Linked DNA regions of Homo sapiens: regions 1 and 3 are each linked to region 2. The links are contacts of gene promoters, found by promoter capture Hi-C in blood cells and fetal thymus (Javierre and others, 2016). All regions are on one chromosome and are shown on one strand. Each heading gives the region's core, a stretch centred on a gene start or on the middle of the fragment in contact. The rest is flanking DNA. Distances are from core to core; before and after follow the strand shown.

Region 1 (3,666 bases), core at 704-3,203, 620 kb before region 2:
ACCTCTGCCTCCCGGGTTCAAGTGATTCTCGTGCCTCAGCCTCCTGAGTAGCTCAGACTACAGGCGCCCACCATGCCTGGCTAACTTTTGTATTTTTAGTAGAGACAGGGTTTTACCATGTTGGCCAGGCTGGTCTCAAACTCCTGACCTCAAGTGATCTGTCTGCCTCGGCCTCCCAAATTGCAGGGATTACAGGCATGAGCCACTGTGCCCAGCCAATTTTTATTTTTTTAATTGACATAATAATTGTACATATTTCTGAGGTACATAGTAATGTTTCAATACATACAATGTATAGTGATCAGATCAGGGCAATTCATATGTCCATCATCTCAAACATTTATCCTTTGTGTTGGGAACTTTCAGTATCCTCTCTTCTAGCTATTTGAAGATGTATAATCTATTTTTGTTACCTATACTCATCCTACAGTGGTATAGAACACTAAACATATTCCTCCTGTCTACCAGTAATCTTGAATCCTTTAACAAATCTCTCCCCATCTCCCCACTTCCTGTTCTGTGTCTCATTCTTCTCTTGGTTTTTTTTGCAGACCTGAGCAGAGTAAGGATGAACTGGTGATGGAAATTCTATCCGACTTGCTAAAGCGGCTGCCACTGACAGTGGAGAAAGAAGAAATTGCTGTTGGAACTCCAAGCACATTGAAGAGCATGATGTCAAGCTCCATTTGGGAGTCTCTTTCTAAAAATCTCAAAGGTGAGCATGGGACAGGAGCTTTTTCCCCTTACCTCACTCTCCTCAAGAAAGGACTCTGGTGTCAGGAGTAAGGTAAAGATAAGACAAAAATTCTGTAGAAGTGAAAATACTGAGATAAGATGGAAAACTCAGTCTCTGCCTCCTCTCTCCAAGTTGAAAGACAGAGAGCACAGAAGAAAATCACGCTTTAGTTTGGGGGTGGGTAGCGTGTGGCACTGAAATCAAAAGTGAAGAAATAACAAGTGTAGCAAACTAGAAAGCAGCAACTCTGCTTTGGAGATTGTCAAGAGTTCTAGGTGCCTGTTCTCTCTGCCTCTCTGCCTTCTGGAACAGCGGAAGTTTAGATGGACCTTCTGCTGAAAGACCACTTGACTCCAAGAAGCTAAGGGGAATCAGGGCAGGCCCAGGAAGACAGAGGAAGCCTGATTGCCCAGAGATGACTCCAAACCCAGCTCTAAGTGGCTAAATTGCTAGACTATGATAATTTTCCCAGTTAAATTTTAATACCCATATTTTATCCCTTTGCAGAAGTTTATTTGGGAACCAAATATTGAGCAATAGTTTATCAAAACAGTGTCATTGTTGAGTCTCAATCAAAGGTCAGCAAATTAGGGCTCGCAGGCCAAATCCAGCCCACCATTTGTTTTTGTACAGCCTGTGAACTAAAATGGCTTTTGCATTTTTTAATGGTTAAAAAAAATCAAAAGAAGGAATATAGTTTGTGACACATAAATGTTATATGAAACTCCAATTTGAGTGCCATAAGTAAAGCTTTACTGGAACACAGCCACACTTACTCATGACATATTGTCTATGCATCCACACATAGTAGATAGTGTGGCCGCACCCACACTACAAGGGGAGAGCTGAGTAGCTTTCACAGAGGTGGTGTGGTCCCCATACCCTAAAATGTTTGCTATCTGACCTTCTACAGAAAATGTTTATCAACCCCTGGTCAAGACACACAAAATTCCCTTAACTTTCAAAGCCTAAGTCCCTCCATGTAAAGCCTCTTTTTAATCTGTAAAATATCAAAATTTTATTTCTTTTTAAAATCCAGATCACGACCCCCTTATCCATTGTGTCTTGCTAACCTTTTTGAAGCAAGAAATTAAACGATTTGATAAGTTATTATTTGTCATACATAAATCCTTAAAAGATCTTCAGCTTGCTATAAAAGGAGAGATCATCCTCACCCAAGAATTGGAGGAAATATTTAACTCTTTTCTTAATATGAGAGTGCCTACATTGTGGCAGGTAAGCAATTATTATTATTTCCTATTTTCTTGCTTGCTTGAAATAAATGTCCAAGTTCAAGGGAATGGTGAAGGTAAATGGTGCATCTGTGTGATGAAATATGTAACTCTTAAAAGATGCTGACGTACTTTTTCATATTTTCACATCTCTGAAGTTGGAATGCCTCTTAACAGTCACTGTTAGCCAGGCAGCACCATCACTTAGTTCTCACTATCTGTGTATGTGAACTATGTATCATGGCAGTTCATGTCAAAGTAGGTGCACTCTTGGTATTACTATAAGTGTTGAGTTTAATTGCTTTTAAAATAAAAACAAAGCTAAACAAGATGATGAAGAAATTACTGGGTCATGGTCTTAAACAGAAGACCAAATTGTAAAAACACAAAATGTATTAGACCAGGAATAAAATAAGCCATGGAAGATCTGGCAGCACAGAGTAGGAAATTAACAAGCTTGATGTTGGACACAAACACTATTTCTCCAGAAATGAACTTCTCCCCTTAGGATTAGCACTGGCCTTTTCCAGAACCCTGAATCCTATACCAGATTGAAAACCTGTGTAGACATGTGAAAAGATGTTCAACAGCATTTGCTTTGAGGGAAATGCAAATCAAAACCACAATGAGATACAACTTCACACCTACTAAGATGGAAAGAATTAAAAATACATAAAAACAAGCATTGGGAGAAATTGGAACCCAAATGCACCACTCATGGGAATGAAAAATGGTGCAGCTACTTTGGAAATAGTCCAGTAGTTCCTCAAAAAGTTAAACAGATTTACCATTTGACCCAGCAATTTCACTCCTAGGAATATATCCAACAGAAATTAAAGCATAAATCCAGGCCGGGCACAGGGCCTCATGCTTGTAATCTCAGCACTTTTGGAGGCCAAGGTGGCGGATCACCTGAGGTTAGGAGTTTGAGACCAGCCTGGCAAACATGGTGAAACCCCGTCTCTACTAAAAATAATAATAATAATAAAATGGCCAGGCATGGTGGTGGGTACCTGAAATCCCAGCTACTTGTGAGGCTAAGGGAGGAGAATTGCTTGAACCCAGAAGGCAGAGGTTGCAGTGAACTGAGATCATGCCATTGCACTCCAGCCTGGGCAACAGAGGGACACTCTGTCTCAAAAAAAAAAAAAGTCCACCCAAAAACTTGCACATGAATGTTCATGGCAGCATTATTTGTAATACCCAAAAGGTGAAAACAACTCAAATGTCCATTGACTGATGAATGGATAAAATATGGTATGTCCCTGTAATGAAATATTATTCAGCCAGCAAAATGAATGAAGTACTGATACAGGCTATCACATGGATAAACCTTGAAAACAGTAGTTCTTCTGTGCTAAGTGTAGGAAGGCCATCACAAAAGACCATATATTGTATGATTCCATTTACAAGAAATGTCCAGAATAGTGACAGAAAATAGATTATTGGTTGCCTCAGTTTGTGGGTGACAGAGAACTGGAGAATGGATGCTGAGAGGGTTTTCTTTTGGACTCATGAAAACGTTCTACAATTGACTACAGTGGTAGTTGCACAACTCAGTGATTATACGAAAAACCATTCATTTGTACACTTTAAATAAGTAAGTTGTATGGCATATGAGTTATATCTCAATGAAGTTATTTTTAAAACCTAGGTAGAAAACATGAAGACAGACGAGAGGAAATAATAACAATTATA
Region 2 (4,026 bases), core at 189-2,688:
CGGATCACCCGAGGTCAGGAGTTCAAGACCTGGCCAACGTGGTGAAACCCCGTCTCTACTAAAAATACAAAAATTAGCCAGGCATGGTGGCGGGCGACTGCAATCCCAGCTATTTGGGAGGCTGAGGCAGGAGAACCGCTTGAACTCAGCGAGGCGGAGGTTGCAGTGGGCCGAGATCACGCCATTGCACTCCAGCCCGGGCAACGGGAGTCAAACTCCGTCGGGGGTGGGGGAGGGGGAGAAAAGAACACTGTACTCATGAAATAAGAATTATTTTCAAAGGAATTAGAATGCAATTATTTTCATGGTCAAAAACAGTTGTGCTTACAGTTTTTAGACTGGATTACAGAGCAGGAAGGAAAACATGGAAAGTGAAAAACCGTATTATTTGCAAACACACATTGCTTCTTCACGGAATCGATCCAAGTCTCTTAAAATTTTGGTCTAGACTGCAGTGTTAACATTTGTTAAGCTTATAAATAGTAAGCAGAGGAAATAGCCGAGGAAAGCACGGATGAGGTGCGGAAAGAACAGAGTTCTAGATCAAGTGCCAACATTAAAATTAGATTCAGGGAAACCACTAAATTCTTTTGACAACTGAACAGGTTTAATATCTTATAGCTGGTAAAAGCTTACTTACTTGAAAGTTCAGTAAAAGCTCACGTGTAACTCTGGAAGTCCCTGGTAGGTTTTCACAAATATGCACGGACAAATGAGACCATCAAATTAATAGTGAACACTTCTACGTAACAGGCCCTAAGAACCCAGGCCCTCAACAGGACACACGTGTGAATGCTTGGTCACAACGACTGACCAGAAGAATCAATTTTCCTTCCCAATCATCCTTTGGCCTGGGTTTGGATATGACATACTTCTCTAGGCTGGGGCTAACAAGGCTGTGTGATGAGTGGACAAAATACACGTCACATAACCATAGTAAGAAGGTGAAGACTGGAGCCTTAAAAATCAGCCGGCCCAACTGCCAGAAGACCATTATATTTACGGATAAAGAAAGAGAAACAAAGTATTTGTAACTGTGAGCGGGACTAAGTGCCTGTAACAGTTTTTTTCTCCCTCTTGGTGGGAAGGCAAAACCACCACCACAAAAGAAAAGCAAAGGAAGGTCTCAGTAACAATTCGAAGCACCTTAACACTGAGGAACTCTCAGCCTCAACGAGTGAAAACCCCAGAGAATAAACGTACCCCCGCCCCGGACAGACCTACTCCGCACCCAGCGCTGCCACCTGTCTGCCTCTTTCTCCTTCCTAACAGGAACCGAAATCCTCACCTGATCTTGGCAGTGCCGGTGGATAAAATCCCGGACGGTGCACCGACCCGAGGCACACCGCACCGCCTTGCACCCGAAGCCAGGGCCGCGAATCCACACCAGCGCCGCGGCCTCCGCCATGTCACCGACTACCCGAACCTCAAGCCTCTCTGAGACACCAGGCGCCGCAACTCGCCCGGCGCCTCTTGATGACGCGAGCATCTTCCAACGCCCCGCCCCTCACGCTTCCGTTCACCCCTCCCCTCCCCTGGGGCGGGTCAAGTGAGCCGGGCGGCGGGGCGGTGCGGGCTGGGGGAGGGGAACAGGAAAGGCCTGGCGGAGGCAGATAAGGCGGCAGAGCACGGGGCGAGGCGTTGCTAGGAGAAGTTGCTAGGGCGGGGCTCGAGGGACCGGCTATAAAAGGCTGGCGCTGGGTTAGGTTTCGAGCTTCCTGGCCGTAAGCGATAAGGCTTTAACTGAGAACCACCTTGTGCTGTAGGCTTTGGCCCTTTTCCTCACATCTGTGTAGTTATTTTTGGGTCGCGGAGAATTGTGGCCCGAGAAGGCTCTGCTCCTTGAGAGTGTGGGGAGAGAAGCTGCAGTCCCGGAAGCGGTTTTAGGGGGCCGCTTCCTTGGCCTAGAGGAGCTCCCCAACCCGAGGGGGCAAGGGAAACGACCCCCAGGAGGCCCCTAAACAGTGGCCGGCGTGGTTTCTCCTCCAGCTTTACAGAGCCTTCTCTTCCCCTCCAGAAACAGCCAACCTCCGGGTTTCTGCCTGCCACGCACGGTTTATTCTTATTTCCGCCTGTTTGTGCACTGCGTTATCTCCACTTCAGCTCTGTTTTCAAAATATTTCACAGCAAGTGGGCTCTTGTGAAAGGCAGTGACAGGAGTGACGTTTATAGTCATGCTGCTTCAAAAAACCCTACCATAACTTTTATTCTGCACCATGGAAACACACTCGGACAGATTTGCATAACGTAACCTTAAGGCTCAGGGAATCCGAAAGAGTCCCTTAATATTTAACAGAATGAGATTATGGTATTTCTAAAACCCTGAACAATTCAAAAGCCACCAGTGTGAAGATAGGAAGGTTATTTGGAGATATCTGTGCCTGCTAAACACAAATGCATCGGCCCACAGAATTGCCTTCTCTGCTGTTAAAATGCTTGGCAAATGGAACTCCTAGCTGAGGGGGTAACAACAAAAAATTCAGAAATCGTTTAGCGGTGGCAGTATGTGCGAAAATGGAATTTCAAGGCCTGGGAAGTTAATAGATTCAGTGGTCTTTATTTCACACACGAGGGAAAGTTGGGGAGAGAAAGGGCCTCCATGGGGATGCCAGTAGATAAATAAAAATTACAAAAAAAAAAATAATAAAGATAGATTGTACTGGCCGGGCGCGGTGGCTCATGCCTGTAATCCAGCACTTTGGGAGACTGAGGCGGGCGGATCTCGAGGTCAGGAGTTCGAAACCAGCCTCACCAACATGGTGAAACCCCATCTCTACTAAAAATACAATAATTAGCCGGGCGTGGTGGTGCGCGTCTGTAATCCCAGCTATTCAGGAGGCTGAGGCAGGAGAATCGCTTGAACCCGGGAGGCAGAGGTTGCAGTGAGCTGAGATCGTGCCATCGCACTCCAGCCTGGGCGACAGAGAGAGTCTCCGTTTCAGAAAAAAAAGATATATTGTACCTAGGAAGCAGTATTTCGGAAAGGTGGTGCCATGGCAACCCTGGGGCGTGAAGGTGTCGCCAGGTTACATGTAAGCCGTCCAAACTCCAGAAACCTCAAGTCCCTCTGCAGTCTGCTCCCCAGCTCTCTGTCCTCCAGGTTCCTGAAAAAGTAATCTACAGATCTGAGCCTTAAGCCTCTTCTTTTTTTATTTGTGATTTCTTCCTTCTGGTGATCAAAAATGACTATTTCAAATAAATAAATAATTTTTTTAAATGACCATTTCAAAGGTCTGAGATCCTACAAGTAACTGTATAAAGGTCAGTTTGGGTTTCCAAAACATTTTTTGTGTCGGGATAATGCTTCGTGTCTTGTGAGGAATTATTATGATTAGTCTTTTTTTTCTTTCTTTCTTTCTTTTTTGAGACACTCGCTCTGCCACCTGGGCTGGAGTGTAGTGGCGCAATCATAGCACACGCAGCCTTGAACTCCTGGGCTCAAGTGATCTGCCACAGACTCCAGATGGATTACAGGTGCATGCCACCACACCTGGCTAATTTTTAAATTTTTTGTAAAGACGAGTTTTTCGCTAAGTTGCCCAGGCTGGTCTTGAACTCTTGGGCTCAAAAGATCCTCCCGCCTCAGCCTCCCAAAGTGCTGGGATTACAGGCGTGACCTGCCGTGCCTGGCATAAGTAGTACTTTCCAGTAAGGAAACTCCACATCATTTATTACTAACATTATATTTAGTCCTCATAAAACCTGATGTCTGAATGGAATTTTTCGCTTTTTATCCCTCTGTTGCATTTAAATTCCTATTATTTAAAGAATCCCAAGTATTGAATAGGTATTTGTCATTTAAAATATGAAATAACCATTGATATTAGCTTTTGAAAGACACAAATTTCCAAGTAATATATAATTTGTTGTTAAAACTTCAAAATGAGCGTGTAGTACCATGACATGTACAGAGTAGATATTAAGTAAATATTAGTTGGATACTTGATGGATTACTAAGGTAGAAGTTAATTATTCTCAATGTACATATGATGAAATATATTTTGCACTAATATAACAATCTATTGT
Region 3 (3,650 bases), core at 290-2,789, 590 kb before region 2:
CTGTTAGTTATACCTACTGGCCATGGCACAAACATTTTATTATCAAACACTAGCTTAGAATCAGCACCAAAACATCCTGCACTTTAAATACATGCTGAATCCCACTTTAAGTCTATAAGTTCCTAATTTTATCCAAATTTCAGAATGTCAAAAATCAATCTATCACTGACATTTAACTATTATATAGTCGATCCTCAATAAACTAGTAAGAGAATAACTTTACTTCCTGCTTTGGTTTGAATGTGTTCTCCAAAGTTCACGTGTTGGAAACGTAATCCTCAATGCAACAGTGTGGAGAGGTAGCACCTTTAAGAGATGATTAGGTCATGAGGGTTCTGCCCTCATGGACAGATTAATGTGGCTATCACAGGAGTGGGCTCAGTATCTCGAGTGGGTTTGTTATAAAAGTATGTTCAGCCCCTCTTGCTCTTCCTCACTCTCTCTTGCCCTCCCTCACTCTCTCTTGTCCTTCCACCTTCCACCCTGGGATGCTGCAGCAGAAGGGGTCTTGCCAGATTCCAGCACCATGCTCTTTGACTTCCTGGCCTCCAGAACCATGAGCCAAATAAATTTCATGACAAATTACCTAGTCTCAGCTATTCTGTTCGAGCAGCACAAAACAAACTAAGACATTCCCCATTTTTAGCTGAACTATAAAATACACTGTCTTGAATAATAAAATGGATGACATGGACATCCAAACCACTGGTGAAACTAAATCTTAATTTTAACCAATGGTTTGAACTTCTTCTACCACAGATACTAACTTGTGTAGCAAAACTATCTGTATTTGCAGTTCACTGCTAATTTTCCCTGCCCAACCTCTAGTATAAGTGTTTAGTGAACAGTGTAAGAACAATGAAAATTCATCCTGAAGTAAAATCCATGACTGACCCTGGTGGACCGCAGCTGCAGCCAAACTGGACTTCTCAGTCTTTCCCAACCTCATCTCACACTTCCCCACCACACACCCTTGCTGAGCTGTTCCCAGTGCCTGACTTTTCGATCTCCCCATCCCATTTTCCCCTCTAAAACTCCAATCGAACACCATATCCTCCGATAAGTTCACACTAACGCTCCCCAGAGAGAAGTTCTCTCTATCTTTAACACCCGTCATCTAAGCCCCTCTTAGTGCTCACTCACACACCTCACAGCAAGGCAGGAATGTCTTATTTCTCCTGTTAGAATGTGAGCTCTATGAAGGCAAGACAAATCTTCTTACTTTATAAGATGCCTACCAGAAAAAGCAGGCACTCAAGAGAAAAGACGTATGGTTACCAAAACGAATTAAAACAACTTAAATTTATTAAATTTAAAAGCAAGATGGTTTAAAATAATCTGTTTCAAGTACTACTGAGAACCCAAGTACGAACCATCCATTCTCTTTGCAAAATGCAGATTTTTTATTACTCATGATAAATGGCTTCAAACTGAGCTAATGCTGGCCATTCAAAATGGCATGTTTCAAGTATGTAGACAGCAGGGCATAAAAGCCTCAGTACATAATATTTAATAAATTAAACTGAGACTAAAATTAATACTCACGTTTCAGAACAATAATTAGAGAAGCCATTGGCCAAGACACTTCATTTGGATGACTGACTAAATAAAAGGCTTGGAAGCTGTAAATAAAGGGAACCCACACCAAGTCTCCAAAAGCCAGCATGAATCCAAATCCATCGTGGATGATGTCCATGGTCGTCAACAACGCTTCCTATAAGGATACAGACGGGGAAAGGGAGAAGGAGCTTCTGTGTTTAAAGTATTCAAATAAAGTACTAGTTTACAGGCAAATGTAAAAAGTGCTATGGGCGGGTCCACAATCAACATTTTTTTGTTAAAGGGGAGAGAGATCTGGTTCCCCTGGCCTGCTAGGTCTTTCTGCTGTCACATTCTCCCGTCACGCCAGCCTCTCGCTCATGCTCTGGAGATAACAGATCTCTAAAGCATCTCCCATGCCCCCATGCCCAGGCCCTCCCCTCTGCTGACAACCCCTCCTCCAACCTCCACATAGGCCCTACACCCTCTGCTGCCCTCCTGACCTGCTGCTCAGACCTGGGCACTTCTCAGATATCACCACCCACCAGTAGGCTGCAGTAATTGGGTTACTGTACTTGTCTAGTCACTCTTCACTACACTAAAAGCCTCTAAAAGACAGAGGCTGTGTGTTTTCACCTTTGCCACCCCAGTACCTAGCACAGTGCCCGCCATGGAGAGAAGTGTTCAAAATATGCTTGCTGAAGGAATAAGATCACCAACTCTTTTTGTTTCAATTCCACATGGACCAATCTAATTTCTGTTCATAATCTGGCATTTCATGTGCATTTTCCACAGAAGAAATTAAGCTGCCTGGCAACATGGTGAACTGACAGCTTCGCTTCTCATGTAAATTAATAAAAGTGCATTACTCCCTGGTGATTTGGTTAGCATGAGCCAGATCGCCTCTGGCCCAGGATACGGGCAGGCCAGACTCTAGAATACGGAACCACCACCAAGGTCAACACTCTGAAGGTCTGGCCTAAGGGAATCTCTAAACTACCCAGAACCTCAGTACAGACCACTGATGTAGAAATATTAGCCAGTATAAGCTCTGTTGGAGAATCAAAGTTCTAGGTTAAAGAAAAAGAGTGGTACCTCTAAATAGCATTTTTTTCCAGAAAAGAAAGCAAATAGGCCATGGAACAGAAAAACAGATGTCACATGAAACAGAAAAACCAATCTCACAAAATCTAGCTCCTTAGGCTTATACTCTTTAGTTAACCAGAGTACTTTATTCTCTTTAAAAAAAAAAATTGACATGTAATAATCGTACATATTTATGGGGTACACAGTGATGTTGCAATACATGTAATATATAGTAATCCAATCAAGGTAATTAGCATATCCATCATCTCAAACACATTCTTTCTTTGTGTTAGGAATATTCAATATCCTTCTAGCTATTTGAAACTATGTATCACTGTTAACTATAGTCATCCTACAGTGGTATAGAATACTAGAACTTAGAACTTACTCCTCCTATCGAGTGGTAATTTTGTATCCTTTAACAAACCTCTCCCTATCCTTCCCTTCCCCCTACCCTTCCCACCTTCCCATATCCTCTGTTCTACTTTATACTTCTATGACATCAACTTTTTTAGCGCCCACATATAAGTGAGGACACACGGTGTTTTAACTTTCTGTCCCCAAGAGTGTCTTATTCTTCTCTCTCAAGGCCTGTGATCTGATTCCTGGTCCAAAAGAGGATAAAGGTGACAAATTGGTGGGAGCAGATAAAAGCAGGTGTGGTGAGTGGCAGTGAGAGGGCAAAGGGTAAGCACCCAATGCCGGGTAGGGGGAGGACCTTAGCCCCACCAGCTCCTGAGCCCCAAGGCTTTCACAGGACGGCTCAGAGGAAGGGTCATGCATATTTAAACAGGTAGTCTCAGTTTTCTTAAGGTATAGCACATTCTTGAATACAGAGGGATTTCTATCAAGTGACCTGACAGAAGTTATTAAGCATCTGCTAATTGCCCAGTGGCATGCCAGAATGCTGAAGAAATCATAAAATACAATCTTTCCTCAAGAAGCTTATTATCATCTGGCTGAGATACTGAGAACAGACAGAAAACAATTTCCTAACTCTAGTTCTCTACCCCTGGGGCTATGTT

Evidence for each region. Contacts are between HindIII fragments. The CHiCAGO score rates a contact against its expected background, and 5 or more counts as called.
Region 1: a contact is called between a fragment that was not itself captured here and the fragment with the promoter of SDE2 in region 2, in 1 of 17 cell types (neutrophils). The highest score is 5.9, in neutrophils.
Region 3: a fragment that was not itself captured here is called in contact with the fragment with the promoter of SDE2 in region 2 in 3 of 17 cell types (neutrophils, total CD4 T cells and naive CD4 T cells); the score reaches 11.5 in neutrophils.

What each region holds. Positions count from the first base shown.
Region 1 is chr1:225,379,608-225,383,273 of GRCh38, forward strand. DNAH14 (dynein axonemal heavy chain 14) reads left to right here. Exons shown (of 86, transcript NM_001367479.1): 80 at 552-715; 81 at 1,776-1,972. Among named protein-coding and RNA genes, the nearest start is that of LBR, 47 kb to the right of the region's middle. The HindIII fragment of the contact is 938 bases long and covers 1,485-2,422 here.
Region 2 is chr1:225,997,905-226,001,930 of GRCh38, forward strand. It overlaps SDE2 (spliceosome associated SDE2), which reads right to left and starts at 1,439. Exons shown (of 7, transcript NM_152608.4): 1 at 1,289-1,439. The coding sequence starts at 1,408. RefSeq lists enhancers at 1,294-1,403, 1,924-2,073, 2,094-2,193, 2,274-2,323 and a silencer at 1,464-1,743. The HindIII fragment of the contact is 16,010 bases long and covers 630-4,026 here.
Region 3 is chr1:225,405,119-225,408,768 of GRCh38, forward strand. LBR (lamin B receptor) reads right to left here. Exons shown (of 14, transcript NM_002296.4): 11 at 1,546-1,714. Among named protein-coding and RNA genes, the nearest start is that of LBR, 21 kb to the right of the region's middle. The HindIII fragment of the contact is 4,055 bases long and covers 1-3,567 here.